Linked DNA regions of Homo sapiens: all the other regions are linked to region 2. The links are contacts of gene promoters, found by promoter capture Hi-C in blood cells and fetal thymus (Javierre and others, 2016). All regions are on one chromosome and are shown on one strand. The core of a region is centred on a gene start or on the middle of the fragment in contact, and the rest is flanking DNA. Distances in the headings are between cores, read along the strand shown.

Region 1 (3,129 bases), core at 123-2,622, 3.5 Mb before region 2:
TCAGGGAAAAAGAAAAAATGATAACCCAAAAATCCAACAATAGAAAACTAGTTCAAGAAATTACAGTAGCGTAGTTAAAGAAATTATAGCCAGGCACAGCAGCTCGTGTTGATAATCCCAGCAATTTGGGAGGCTGAGGTGGGAGGACTACCTGAGGCCAGTAGTTTGAGGCCAGCCTGGGCAACATGGTAAGACACCATCTCTCCAAAAAATAAAAAATTAGCCAGGCCTGGTGGTGCACGCCTGTGGTCCCAGTTGCTCAGAAGGCTGTGGCAGGAGGATTGCTTGAGCCCAGGAGATCGAGATTGCAGTGAGCAGTGATCACACCACTGCACTCTAGCCTGGGTGACAAAGCAAGAGCCTGTCTCAAAAAAAAAAAAAAAAGAAAGAAAGAAAAGAAAAGAAATTACAGTCTATATCCACACAATGGAATGCTACTTAGCAATAAAAAGGAATGAACTACTGACCCATGCAACAACAGGGATGACTTTCTCTTTTTTTTTTTTTTTTTTTTTTGAGACAGAGTTTCGCTCTGTTGCCCAGGCTGGAACGTACTGGCAGTATCTTGGCTCACTGCAACCTTCGCCTTCCAGGTTCAAGCGATTCTCCTGCCTCAGCCTCCCGAGTAGCTGGGATTACAGCCAAGTGCCACCACCCCCGGCTAATTTTTGTATTTTTAGTAGAGATGGGGTTTCACCATGTTGGCCAGGCTGGTCTCAAACTCCTGACCTCAGATGATTCGCCCACCTCGGCCTCCCAAAATGCTAGGATTACAGGCGTGAGCCACCACGCCCACCCTGGATGACTTTCATACTAAGTGAAAGCAGCCAGACACAAGAAGCCACATACTGTGCGATTCCACTTACATGGAATGTCCAGACAACCCTAGAGGCAGCAAGCAGATTAGTGGGTGCTGGGGGGGTGGGGGTAGGAATAAGGATTAACTGTAAATGAGCATTAAGAATCTTCTGGGGTGATGGAATGTTCTAAAACAATTGTGGCAATGGATGCATGACTCTATAAACTCTTTTTTTTTTTTTTTGAGACAGGATCTCACTGTCGCCTAGGCTGAAGTCCAGTGGCGCAATCTCAGCTCACTGCAACCTCTGCCTCCCAGGTTCAAGCGATCCTCCTGCCTCAGCCTCCTGAGTAGCTGGGATTAAAGGCACGTGCCACCACACCCGGCTAATTTTTGTATTTTGGGTAGAGATGGGGTTTCGCCATGTTGTTCAGGCTGGTCTCAAACTGGTGGGCTCAAGTGATGTGGCTGCCTCAGCCTCCCAAAGTGCCGGGATTACAGGTGTGAGCCACTGCACCCGGCCTCCATAAACTTTCTAAAAATCATGGGTAAACTCTACCATACACCTCAATAAAGTTGTGTAAAAATGACCAGGTATTTGATTATATTAAGAAATGTTATTTAAATTTTCAGGTACAATGTTGGTAATAATTTTTTATCTTCTAGGCCAGGCCTGGTGGCTCATGCTTGTAATCCCAGCACTCTGGGGGGCCAAGGTGGGGGGATGACTTGAGGTCAGGAGTTGGAGACCAGCCTGGCCAACATGGTGAAACCCCGTCTCTACTAAAAATACAAAAATTAGCCAGGCGTGGTGGCGCGCGCCTGTGATCTCAGCTGCTCAGGAGGCTGAGGCATGAGAATCACTTGAACCTGGGAGGCAGAGGTTGCAATGAGCTGAGATCGCGCCACTGCACTCCATCCTGGGCGACAGAATTGAGACTCCATCTCAAAAAAAAAAAAGAAAAAAAATTCATCTTTTAGAGGTACTTGTTGAAAAGTTAAATTATATATCTTGGATTTGCTTCAAAATGATCTAGTCTGGGAAGTGAGAAAAAACTAAGTTTACATTTATGGGTACATGGGGGTACACTGTACTCTTCCCTCTACTTATAATATAAAGTTTAAAACAATTTTAAAAAGTTGTAAAAGAATATTTAATAAAATTAGGAAGTTAGTCATGATTTCTGTGTAAAGCAGATTAGGATGTTTTCAGTGTGGTTCAAATTATATAAAAATACATATATATGGACATTTTTAAACATTATTAGAGAAATGCTGATTGTCCAGTATTAGCCAAAAAGTTAAAGTTAATTTCTAGGCGTTGGGATCATGCAAGGTATGTTACTATTCTTATGTTTTCCACATTTCTCACAATGGTCATCTATCACTTTCATACTTCAACAATTTACAGTATATCATTCATGTTGAAAGCCATTTAAGACACGAAATTTATCTTTATTCCATCCAGGATTTGTACTGGGCACTCTCAAGAAACAGTTAAGATACAACTTGACATGAAACTGCTCAACCTGGTAAGTGTCTACTCAGTGTCTGACTCAGTTCTTGTTCATTTTTTGGGGACTTTTTTTTTAAAAGAACCAGAAAAAAGGTAAAAATTCTCATTTCACTTCTGTTTGTCACCTTCTCATTCATTTCTGGAGGTCGAACTAAAAGTAACCACTTCCAAGTTACTAATGATTCAGACACAATCTAGTTCTATGGAACTTGTTGGAAAGGAAGTTCTGTGTCTAAAGCTGTCACAGGATACTACTTCTCAGCTTTCATTTTCTTCCTTCAATATCAAATAGTACTTAACTCTAAATGGGCATGATGTTTCTACAAATAGTAGAATCTTTATTTATAAAGAGGTAAATTTCTGTGGCAATAATACAAACATGGATTTCACATACATACACCACCATCACCAGCTTACATATATTAACTTTTTTTTGAGACGGAGTCTCGCTCTGTTGCCAGGCTGGAGTGCAGTGGCGCGATCTCAGCTCACTGCAACCTCTGCCTCCTGGGTTCAAGTGATTCTCCTGCCTCAGCCTTCTGAGAGTAGCTAGGACTACAGGCACACCCCGCCATGCCCAGCTAATTTTTGTATTTTTAGTAGAGACAGGGTTTCACCATGTTGGCCAGGATGGTCTCGAACTCTTGGCCTTGTGATCTGCCCGCCTTGGCCTCCGAAAGTGCTGGGATTACAGACGTGAACCACCGTGCCCAGACATATTAACTTTTTTTTTCTATTGTGTGGTTTCTTTTATAAATTTTGGGTTTTTTTTCCCTTTTAGGGCAGCACCCTAATTCAAGGCTAATGGAATAAG
Region 2 (2,997 bases), core at 352-2,851:
GGAGGCCAGGGTGGGAGGATTGCTTGAGCCCAGAAGTTTGACATCAGCCTAGGCAACATGGCAAGACCCCATCTATACAAAAAGTACAAAAAATTAGCTTGGCGTGGTGGTGTGTGCCTGTAGTCCTAGCTACTTGGGAGGCTGAGGTGGGAGGATCACTTCAGCCTGGGAGGTCAAGTCTGCAATGAACTGAGATTGCTCCACTACACTCTAGCCTGGGCAACGGAGTGAGACTGCTTCTCAAAAAAAAAAAAAAAAAAAAAAAAAAAAAAAAAAGATTTGATGGAGGTGAATTATTCTATGGATGTTTGTTGGCTAGTTTTCTAGGAAGAGGGAATGGCTAATGCAAAAGCCCCCAAGTAAAGCCTGCTCTGGAAAAGCAGCAGAGCATCATCTGGGTAGAAAGCAAGTAAGTGAGGAGGAAAACATCTGAGATGATCAGAGTGGGCGTGAGGGACAGATAGGTAAGGGCCTTGTAGGTACTTTAGGTTTTAGATTTTTACTCTGTAGGAAACGGAAAGTTTTAAGCAGATAAGGAGATGAGCTGACTTAGGTTTTTTTTTTTTTTTTTTTTTTTTTGAGATGGAGTCCCTCTCTGTCACCCAGGCTAGAGTGCAATGGTGTGATCTTAGCTCACTGCAGAGCTCACAGCTCCCGGGTTCAAGCGATTCTTCTGCCTCGGCCTCCTGAGTAGCTGGGATTACGGGCATGCGCCACCCCACCTGGCTAATTTTTGTATTTTTAGTAGAGACGGGGTTTTGCCATGTTGGCCAGGCTAGTCTCGAACTCCTGACCTCAGGTGATCCACCCGCCTCGTCCTCCCGAAGTGCTGGGAGTATAGGCGTGAGCCACCGCGCCCGGCCAGGTTTTAAAGGATCCCTCTGTTTTGGTAGGCGGAAAAACTAGAGAAGACGAGAGACCATTCTGAGGCCGGGCGCGGCGGGTCACGCCTGTAATCCCAGCACTTTGGGAGGCCGAGGCGGGCAGATCACGAGGTCAGGAGATCGAGACCATCCTGGAGAACATGATGAAACCCCGTCTCTACTAAAAATACAAAAAAAAAATTAGCCGAGCACGGTGGCGGGCGCCTGTAGTCCCAGCTACTCCGGAGGCTGAGGCAGGAGAATGGCGTGAACCCGGGAGGCGGAGCTTGCAGTCAGCCGAGATGGCGCCACTGCGCTCCAGCCTGGGCGACAGAGCGACACTCCGTCTCAAAAAAAAAAAAAAAAAGAGAAACCATTCTGTTTCTAAGCATGTGCAATTATGTCTCAGCTCCACGTCATACCTTTTAGTTTGCTGAGCTCGCCAGGTGGCACAGGGAACCGGGACTCCGAATTCGCAGCTCCAGCTCCAGCTCCAGCCCAGCAGGTGGCAGCAGCTCAGAGCAAGCTCCTCCAACGCGAGGCAGCGCCTTCCTTCGCGACCCTACTTAAAGGCGGCTTTCCGTTGGCTGGAGTGGCAGCGATATTATCCAATGGTTGCCTGTATTCGTTCAGCTTTGTCTGACGGGCGATGGCGCAGCCAATAGACAGGAGCGCTATCCGCGGTTTCTGATTGGCTACTTTGTTCGCATTATAAAAGGCACGCGCGGGCGCGAGGCCCTTCTCTCGCCAGGCGTCCTCGTGGAAGGTTCGTGTGCTAGTTAGATGGGCGCCAGGGGTCGCCGGCGGGAAGCATGGAGGGGTCTTTGGGGGCCTTTGGGAACATGGAGTCCTATTCTGTTCCGCCTGGGGCCTCGGTGGCGGCTTGCACGCCCCGAGATGACGGCCGCTGCCCTAGGCAGGGCCGGCGGGCGATTGCGCGTGTCCTGCTCCTCTTAGGCCCGGGACCGCGGGATGGGTGTCGGCGTGACCAGGCCTGAGCTCCCTGTCTCTCCTCAGTGACATCGTCTTTAAACCCTGCGTGGCAATCCCTGACGCACCGCCGTGATGCCCAGGGAAGACAGGGCGACCTGGAAGTCCAACTACTTCCTTAAGATCATCGTAAGTGCAGGGTGGGTCGCCTCTGCTCTTCATGTTGCCCCAGCGCAAATAGGGACAGTCAGCTGCTATGTGCTGAGGGTCTACTCACACCGGCTACTGAATTAGGCCATTTTTGGGAAAATACTGTTTAGTTAACAATTTCCTGAGATAGGTCCCTTCTGTTGCAGATAAACGGGCTCAGGCAAGTTAAGTGGGTCCTAAGATGACAGCATTCGTATCCAGGTCTGTCTGGCTTCTAAAAGAGCGCGCTTTATACTTTTTTTTTTTTAAACGGAGTCTCGCTCTGTTGTCCAGGCTGGAGTGCAGTGGCTTGATCTTGGCTTACTGCAACCTCCGCTTCCCAGGTTCAAGCGATTCTCCTGCTTCAGCCTCCCGAGTAGCTGGGATTACAGGGGCGCGACACCACACCCAGCTAATTTTTGTATTTTCAATAGAGACAGGGATTCACCATGTTGGCCAGGATGGTCTCGATCTCTTGACTTCATGATCCACCTTCCTCGGCCTCCCTAAGTGCTAGGATTACAGGTGTGAGCCACCGCGCCCGGCCGCACATTACAGTTTTACTCCATTTTTGAGAAGGTCTGAGGTCAGGAATGACTCATTGTAAGGAAGCAAGCTGTTGCATATTTAGGACCTGTCAGCCAAGAAACTTAAGTGTCCAATGACTTTTGGATGGCCTTTGAGGTGGGTCTCCCTTGCCCAGAAATGCTGACTGTACTGCGCTTAAGCAATTAGGCAGCATTGTAGAGCATAGCTTGTATTACATTTTCCCACACTTAGAAGGTTTTCAGACACAAAACCCAAAGGAATTGTGTAACAATCCGGATAAACACGCCTAGATTGTTTTTACAAATAATAATGTTGCTATATTTGCTTAACGTGGTGCTTTTAATGCTGTGAATCTAGCCCTCCTCTTGACCAACTTACTTGGAACATTCCTTTTTTATCCTGTTAACCATTTTAGTGAATCAGAAGCATGCCTGGTAATTGGGAAAAATTAAAAACTAAGTAAAAA
Region 3 (3,240 bases), core at 339-2,838, 3.0 Mb before region 2:
TGGGCTCAAGCAAGCTTCTTTGCCTCAGCCTCCCCAGTAGCTGGGGCCACAGGTGTGTACCACCATACCTGGCTAGTTTTTAATTTTTTGTAGAGATGGGGTCTTGCCATGTTGCCCAGGCAGGTCTCGAACTCATGGGCTCAAGCAATCCTCCTGCCTCAGCCTCCCAAAGTGATGGGATTACAGGCGTGAGCCACCACGTGCAGCTGCAAAGCACTTTCAAATACATTATTGTATTTAATACAAATAAAGAAAATAAGAGATGCACACTTCCTGATTATCTCAGTAAGACCTATCTTGGAAACCATTAGGTTTTCAATTTTTGAAACTAAATTATCCTTTCTACACCTTGTTTCATTACCTTTCATATCTCCAGATCTTTTTCCAGTTTCTTAGGCAATGTTAGCTCCTTTTCCTTAACTTTTTCTGTTTTAAGTTTTTATTTATTTATTTTTTTGAGACGAGTCTCACTCTGTTGCCCAGGCTGGAGTGCAGTGGCACCATCTTGGCTCACTACAACCTTTGCCTCCCGGGTTCCAGCGATTCTCCTGCTTCAGCCTCCCAAGTAGCTGGGATTATAGGCACCAGCCACCACGCCCAGCTAATTTTTGTATTCTTAGCCCAGATGGGGTTTCACCATGTTGGCCAGGCTGGTCTCGAACTCCTGACCTCAAGCGATCCGCTTGCCTCGGCCTCCCGAAGTGCTGGGAGTACAGGCATGAGCCACCACGCCCGGCCAACTTTCTCTTTTTAAAAAGACTAGTCAAGTACAGTAGAGAAGGGGGAAAGAGTAGAACAAGAAGTTTGATCTGTGACTGTGAACAATTAATTAAGATAACTCACTACCAGGCCGAGCGCGGTGGCTCACGCCTGTAATCCCAGCACCGTGGGAGGCCGAGGCAGGTGGATCATGAGGTCAGGAGATCGAGACCAACCTGGCTAACACGGTGAAACCCCATCTCTACTAAAAATACAAAAAAAAAAAAAATTAGCTGGGCCTGGTGGCAGGCACCTGTAGTCTCAGCTACTAGGGAGGCTAAGGCAGGAGAATGGCGTGAACCTGGGGGGCGGAGCTTGCAGTGAGCTGAGCTCTGTCACACACACACACACAAAACTCACTACGTTTGGACCAGCCTGACTTTCTGTATTTGACGACTCCTCTCATTTTTTCTTTTGTCCCAAAAAGGCCTTCCTGCCAAGGATTGCGAGCTCTGTGGCCAACAGACCTGCGTTCAATGTCTCAATGCCACAATTTACTTACTGGGTAACTTTGGCTCTAATTCCTCATCTGTAGAATGGAGATACTACTACCTAGAGTGCGAACAAAATCATACATGTTGCCATAAATGTAAAGTACTTAGTGGTCACTAAATGGGAGCATGTCAGATCTCTCAACTACAAGGCTGAGGAACTTTGGAATGACACACCACATACACTGTTGTCTTATGACACAAACCCAGTCTGGGAACTGATTATTTCATCGGCCTTTGTTTTAGAGCTTAGGGTGAAAAGGCATCTACAACAGTGGCTTGTAAATTATTTTACTTGGTATGGTCCAATTTAAGAAGTACTTGATAAGCCATGACATTACTGAAAACATGTTATTTGGTGGGATCATAATTCTGGTCTGTGAAATCAGGTACTAAGGAGATCACTGTGATGCCAAAAATATAGCCTGACTTCCCAGCAGGTTCACACTGAAAGATAAAACCATCTTCAATGAAGTAAGTCCTGGTTTAAACATAAAATATCTTTTGGAATTATGTAATATAATTTAAAAAATCATGAAAGATAGGATAACATCAAATTTACCCTTTGAAAATTGCCAGGCGTGGTGGCTCATGCCTGTAATCCCAGCACTTTGGGTGGCCGAGGCAGGAGGATGACCTGAGGTCAGGAATTCGAGACCAGCCTGGCCAATATGGCAAAACCCCGTCTCTACTAAAAATACAAAAAATTAGCCGGATGTGGTGGCGGGCACCGGTATTCCCGGCTACTCGGGAGGCTGAAGCAGAAGAATCACTTGAACCCGGGAGGCAGAGGTTAAAGTGAGCCGAGATCGCGCCACTGCCCTCCAGCCTGGGTGACAGAGAGAGACCTTGTCCCCCCTACCCCCCTCCCCCACAAAAATAAAAAAAGTAAAAAAAAATTGGTAGGTATACTTAGGAAGCTCCAATGAGATGTAACGCCTCCTGGCAGATCTGTTATTCCAAGGGCAGATCCATTTCCTGGGTTGTGGAGGCCTAAGTGATAGTGCCAGGGAAGTCCCTTTACTGTGAGCCAGAACTCCTGGAGGTAAATCGAGTAGCTGGAAAGACCTTAAAGGTTAACTATGCTGAAGAATGTGGCCTGCACAGTGCGCATGAAATGGGCTGGGGTCCCACGGGGAGGAGAGCGAGTTCCCTTTGGTCCTTCAAAAGTAGGGCTGGGTGGCTTGCGCCTGTGATCCCAGCACTTTGGGAGGCCGAGGAAGGAGGATCGCTTGAGGCCAGGAGTTCGAGATCAGCTTGGGCAACACAGTGAGACCCCCCCACCCCACGTCTATTAAAAAAAAAACGAGTATCTCCGCAAAAGCCTAGCAAGGGCAGTGCTGACCTCTACTACGTGCCAGGCCTGAAACAGCACCTGATGCGTGCTCACAGCTCCATTCCGCTCAGTTTTGTACATGAGGATCCTTCCGTTTCGCCTTGGGCCTCCGTGGAACCGTTATCTCCAGGACGGTAGTCTCTCCTCTCCCCTGCCCTGAGTGCCTGAACAGCCCCAGGGCCGACCCACAGCACCTAGCGTAAACCAGGTCCCGAGAAAACTGAGCTCGGGTGTCACGGCCGGCCCCACCCCACCGCCAGCGCGGCCTCAGGTAAACTGGCTGCGCCACTCGGGGTCGCAAGTCGGGAAAAACCCAGGCGTCCCGGCTCGCAGTCCTCTCTCCGGAGCCTTTGACAGTCGTCGGCAGCCGTAGGGTTACCTGGCTTCTCCGCAGATGCTTACCTGGTCTCAGGACCCGACTCGTGCCCTCAACGTTCTAGGGATATCCAAATCACCTCAGCGGAGGATTCGCAATCGCGATCCCTGATCTGCGCACGCGCCGTACTCCGATCGCGGTTTCTCTTATCTACCAGAGGCTCATGTTTACTCACTGCGCATGCGAGAAACTGAAGCTTCTTTCCCTCGTGGCAGCGGCTGGCTCCCAGAGAGCCAATCAGAGAAGAGAGTTTCACAGCAATCCCGCCCCCTTGTCAC
Region 4 (3,019 bases), core at 390-2,889, 4.7 Mb before region 2:
GTGGCTCACGCCTGTAATCCCAGCACTTTGGGAGGCCAAGGGGTGCAGATCACCTGAGGTCAGGAGTTCGAGACCAGCCTGGCCAACATGCTGAACCCCCCCCCATCTCTACTAAAAATACAGAAATTAGCAGGCGTGGTGGTGCACGCCTGTAGTCCCAGCTACTCGGGAGGCTGAGGCAGGAGAATCGCTTGAACCCAGGAGGCGGAGGTTGCAGTGAGCCCAGATCATGCCACTGCACTCCAGCCTGGGCGACAGAGCAAAACTCTGTCTCAAAACAAACCAACCAACCAAAAACTAAAAGCCTCTCGCACTCCCGTGTGTATTGCAGCTTTATTCATAAGTGCCTAGATGTGTCCGTCAACAGATACATGGATAGAGAAAATGTGTACATACGCAATAGAATACTATTCGACCTTAAAAAAATACAAAACAAAATGAAATCCTGTCATTTTTCCTCTACGAAACAAAAATAAAAACATGGCTAAGTTTGGGCGACATTACATAAAGTGAAATAAACCGGGCACAGAAAGATAAATACTGCATGATCTCACTCACGTGCGGAAGCTGAAATAGTTGGTCTCACAGAGAGAATAGTGGTTACTGCAGGTAGTGAAGGTGGGGGGAGGTGGGATAGCCAAAGGGGGGTTACTGGATACAAAAGTACAGCTGAATAGGAGGAATAAGTTCCAGTGTCCCTATAGAGTGAATACAACAACTTATTGTACGTTTTCAAATAGCTGGAAGCGTGGATTTTTAATGTCTCCCAGCACAGAGAAATGATACATGTTTGAAGGGATGGATGTGGTCATTGCCCTGATTTGAACATTACAAATTGTGTACATAGATCACAACATCACACCACACCTCATAAATGTGCACAATTGTTATGCGTCCAAACAATAATAAAAACCAAAAATAAAAATGAAACACGTGGAAACAGGAAAAACGCCTTTAAGAATAGAGTATAGCAAGGACTTCCAAAAGCAAGTACAGGAAAGGGAGGGGGATGTAGCTCAGTGGTAGAGCGCATGCTTTGCATGTATGAGGCCCCGGGTTCGATCCCCGGCATCTCCATTGTAGTTTTGTTGCTTTCTGTATTCGTTTTGGTCCGTGGTTCTTTATCATTAAAGTGCCATGGATGTGATTATCATAAGCATTGTGATTCCAGGCACTACTTGGAGCTCAGATTCTCACACCAGGTGTGATCTTCCCATTCTGAAATCTCTAATGTTTCAAATGCACATGAGTTAGAAGAGGCTGATGGGAGTAATCAGCAGAAAAGTGTTAAGGCAAAACCTGACTTGATGACTGAAACCACAGCAAAAGTGAGCAGGATGATCATTTGGGGAGTGTACACCACATCTCGTGCCACCATGATTGTACTGCACTGGCCTCGAGGGCTGTTGACGCATTCTTGGCCATCAGAGGGCAAGTGTGTAAGTTGCTGGAAGGTCTGGGCCCCCCTGTTTGCCATCTCACTCCTCCTCTGCACTGCCACGAACCACCTCATTTGCATGGGAGGAACCCAGAAGCAAACTCACATCCCAGCGGGGCTTTGCTCTCTGCTTCCTCAGCAACACGTCTCCACGGCTGTAATGCAAGTGCAATTTACATTTATATTCATACACTGTGTTCCGGGGTGAGCAGGCCTATGCAAACCTACCCCAAAGGCCAAGGGAGCTGAGAGGCCAAAGAAAGGGGTTGACAAACCCAGTTTCTCAGGAAAAAACATTTATTAGGGACTTACCAACAGAAGCCATAGTCTCAGGGTGGTCATCAGAGGATATAAGGTTTGCTGCGCCATAACCCCCGGCCCAGGGCTTCCATACCATAGGGAAGGAATATATGTAGGACAATTGAAGTTGACCCCTCAAGCAAGGCAAGAATGTTATGTGAATCCGCATAAGGGAAGGATTTATGATCTAGGTTGTTCTGATCTAAGGGCAGAATTTATGGTAACAGTAAAGTAGAAATCTTAGAGACCTTCCTGGAAGAGGCATTAATCGGAAGTTATCTTGGTGGATTAGCAACCAAGATGGAGTTGCTTTCACCTCCACTGTGTTTCTGTGTTTTATCACTGAAAGCAAAAGATGGTGGCTCAGGCCTGTAATCCCAGCACTTTGGGAGGCATGAGGCAGGAGAATTGCTTGAGGCCAGGAGTTTGAAAGCAGCCTGGGCAACAAAGGGAGACCTTGGCTCGGAAAGGAAAGGAAAGGAAAGGAAGGGGAAGGGGAGGGAAAGGGGAAGGGGAGGGGAGGGGAGATTGATTTACTTGCATGAATGATCTTTAGGCAAAAATAAATACATAAAAATAAATTATATTTTTTAAAGTTTAACCAGTTCCCAGCTCTCTAAATAATAATAAGAATGAAAGAAGGGATTCGGCTGCATTCTGTGGTACAGTTCTTTGCAATTATAATGAATTCCTCACCTGTCAGCCCCTTTCTTTCATTTGACTTGACTTCATGTTTTAAATGGTAAAAGCGTCTAATCCTAGATCTAGAGCTTTCATTTTTGAGATGAAGAAAATGAAACTTGCGAACTGACTCACCAGTTAGGTGGTGACGCATTGGTGACAGCTTGTTTCTAATGAGCTTCAGGAAAGGTTATTTCTCCCTAAATGTCAACAAGGTTTTAGGGGAAAATCATTGAAGATAATTTCTGAAGTCATCAGGCCTAACACAAAACTTACATGCTTCTGTAACTGCCCAACAGTTTCTCCTTGCCCGCTGCCTAGACAGAGCCCATTTATTAGGACAGGGAAACTGTGATCCGCCCACCTCAGCCTCCCGAAGTGCTGGGATTACAGGCGCAAGCCACCTCGCCCTGCCATAATAGAGAACGTTTAATTCACACACAGCTGGCAGTGTGGGAGACGGGAGTTTTACTATTACTCAAATCAGTCTCCCTGAAAACTCAGGGATTGGAGTTTTGAAGGATAATTTGGTGTGTAGGGAGGTCGGGAAATCGGGAGTACTGATTGGTTGGGTCGGAGATGAAATCACAGGGAGTCGAA

The links. Contacts are between HindIII fragments. The CHiCAGO score rates a contact against its expected background, and 5 or more counts as called.
Region 1: a fragment that was not itself captured here is called in contact with the fragment with the promoter of RPLP0 in region 2 in 1 of 17 cell types (total B cells); the score reaches 5.5 in total B cells.
Region 3: a contact is called between a fragment that was not itself captured here and the fragment with the promoter of RPLP0 in region 2, in 2 of 17 cell types (naive CD8 T cells and non-activated CD4 T cells). The highest score is 7.2, in naive CD8 T cells.
Region 4: a fragment that was not itself captured here is called in contact with the fragment with the promoter of RPLP0 in region 2 in 1 of 17 cell types (M0 macrophages); the score reaches 7.3 in M0 macrophages.

What each region holds. Positions count from the first base shown.
Region 1 is chr12:123,714,702-123,717,830 of GRCh38, reverse strand. The region is part of intron 1 of ATP6V0A2 (ATPase H+ transporting V0 subunit a2); the gene reads right to left. It overlaps LOC105370042 (a long non-coding RNA gene), which reads left to right. Exons shown (of 3, transcript XR_945477.4): 2 at 2,268-2,331; 3 at 3,097-3,129. Among named protein-coding and RNA genes, the nearest start is that of ATP6V0A2, 3.9 kb to the right of the region's middle. The HindIII fragment of the contact is 5,850 bases long and covers 1-3,129 here.
Region 2 is chr12:120,199,715-120,202,711 of GRCh38, reverse strand. RPLP0 (ribosomal protein lateral stalk subunit P0) reads left to right here and starts at 1,601. Exons shown (of 8, transcript NM_001002.4): 1 at 1,601-1,629; 2 at 1,881-1,982. The coding sequence starts at 1,929. It overlaps PXN-AS1 (PXN antisense RNA 1), which reads right to left and starts at 1,421. Exons shown (of 4, transcript NR_038924.1): 1 at 1,286-1,421. RefSeq lists enhancers at 1,086-1,445, 1,846-1,915, 2,956-2,997. The HindIII fragment of the contact is 6,201 bases long and covers 1-2,997 here.
Region 3 is chr12:123,233,280-123,236,519 of GRCh38, reverse strand. It overlaps MTRFR (mitochondrial translation release factor in rescue), which reads right to left and starts at 3,084. Exons shown (of 3, transcript NM_152269.5): 1 at 2,989-3,084. It also overlaps a transcript of MPHOSPH9 not described here. The HindIII fragment of the contact is 3,144 bases long and covers 17-3,160 here.
Region 4 is chr12:124,919,813-124,922,831 of GRCh38, reverse strand. TRA-TGC3-2 (tRNA-Ala (anticodon TGC) 3-2) reads left to right here and starts at 1,006; the gene lies at 1,006-1,077. RefSeq lists enhancers at 1,211-1,530, 1,097-1,775, 1,611-1,800 and a cis regulatory region at 1,385-1,555. The HindIII fragment of the contact is 6,001 bases long and covers 1-3,019 here.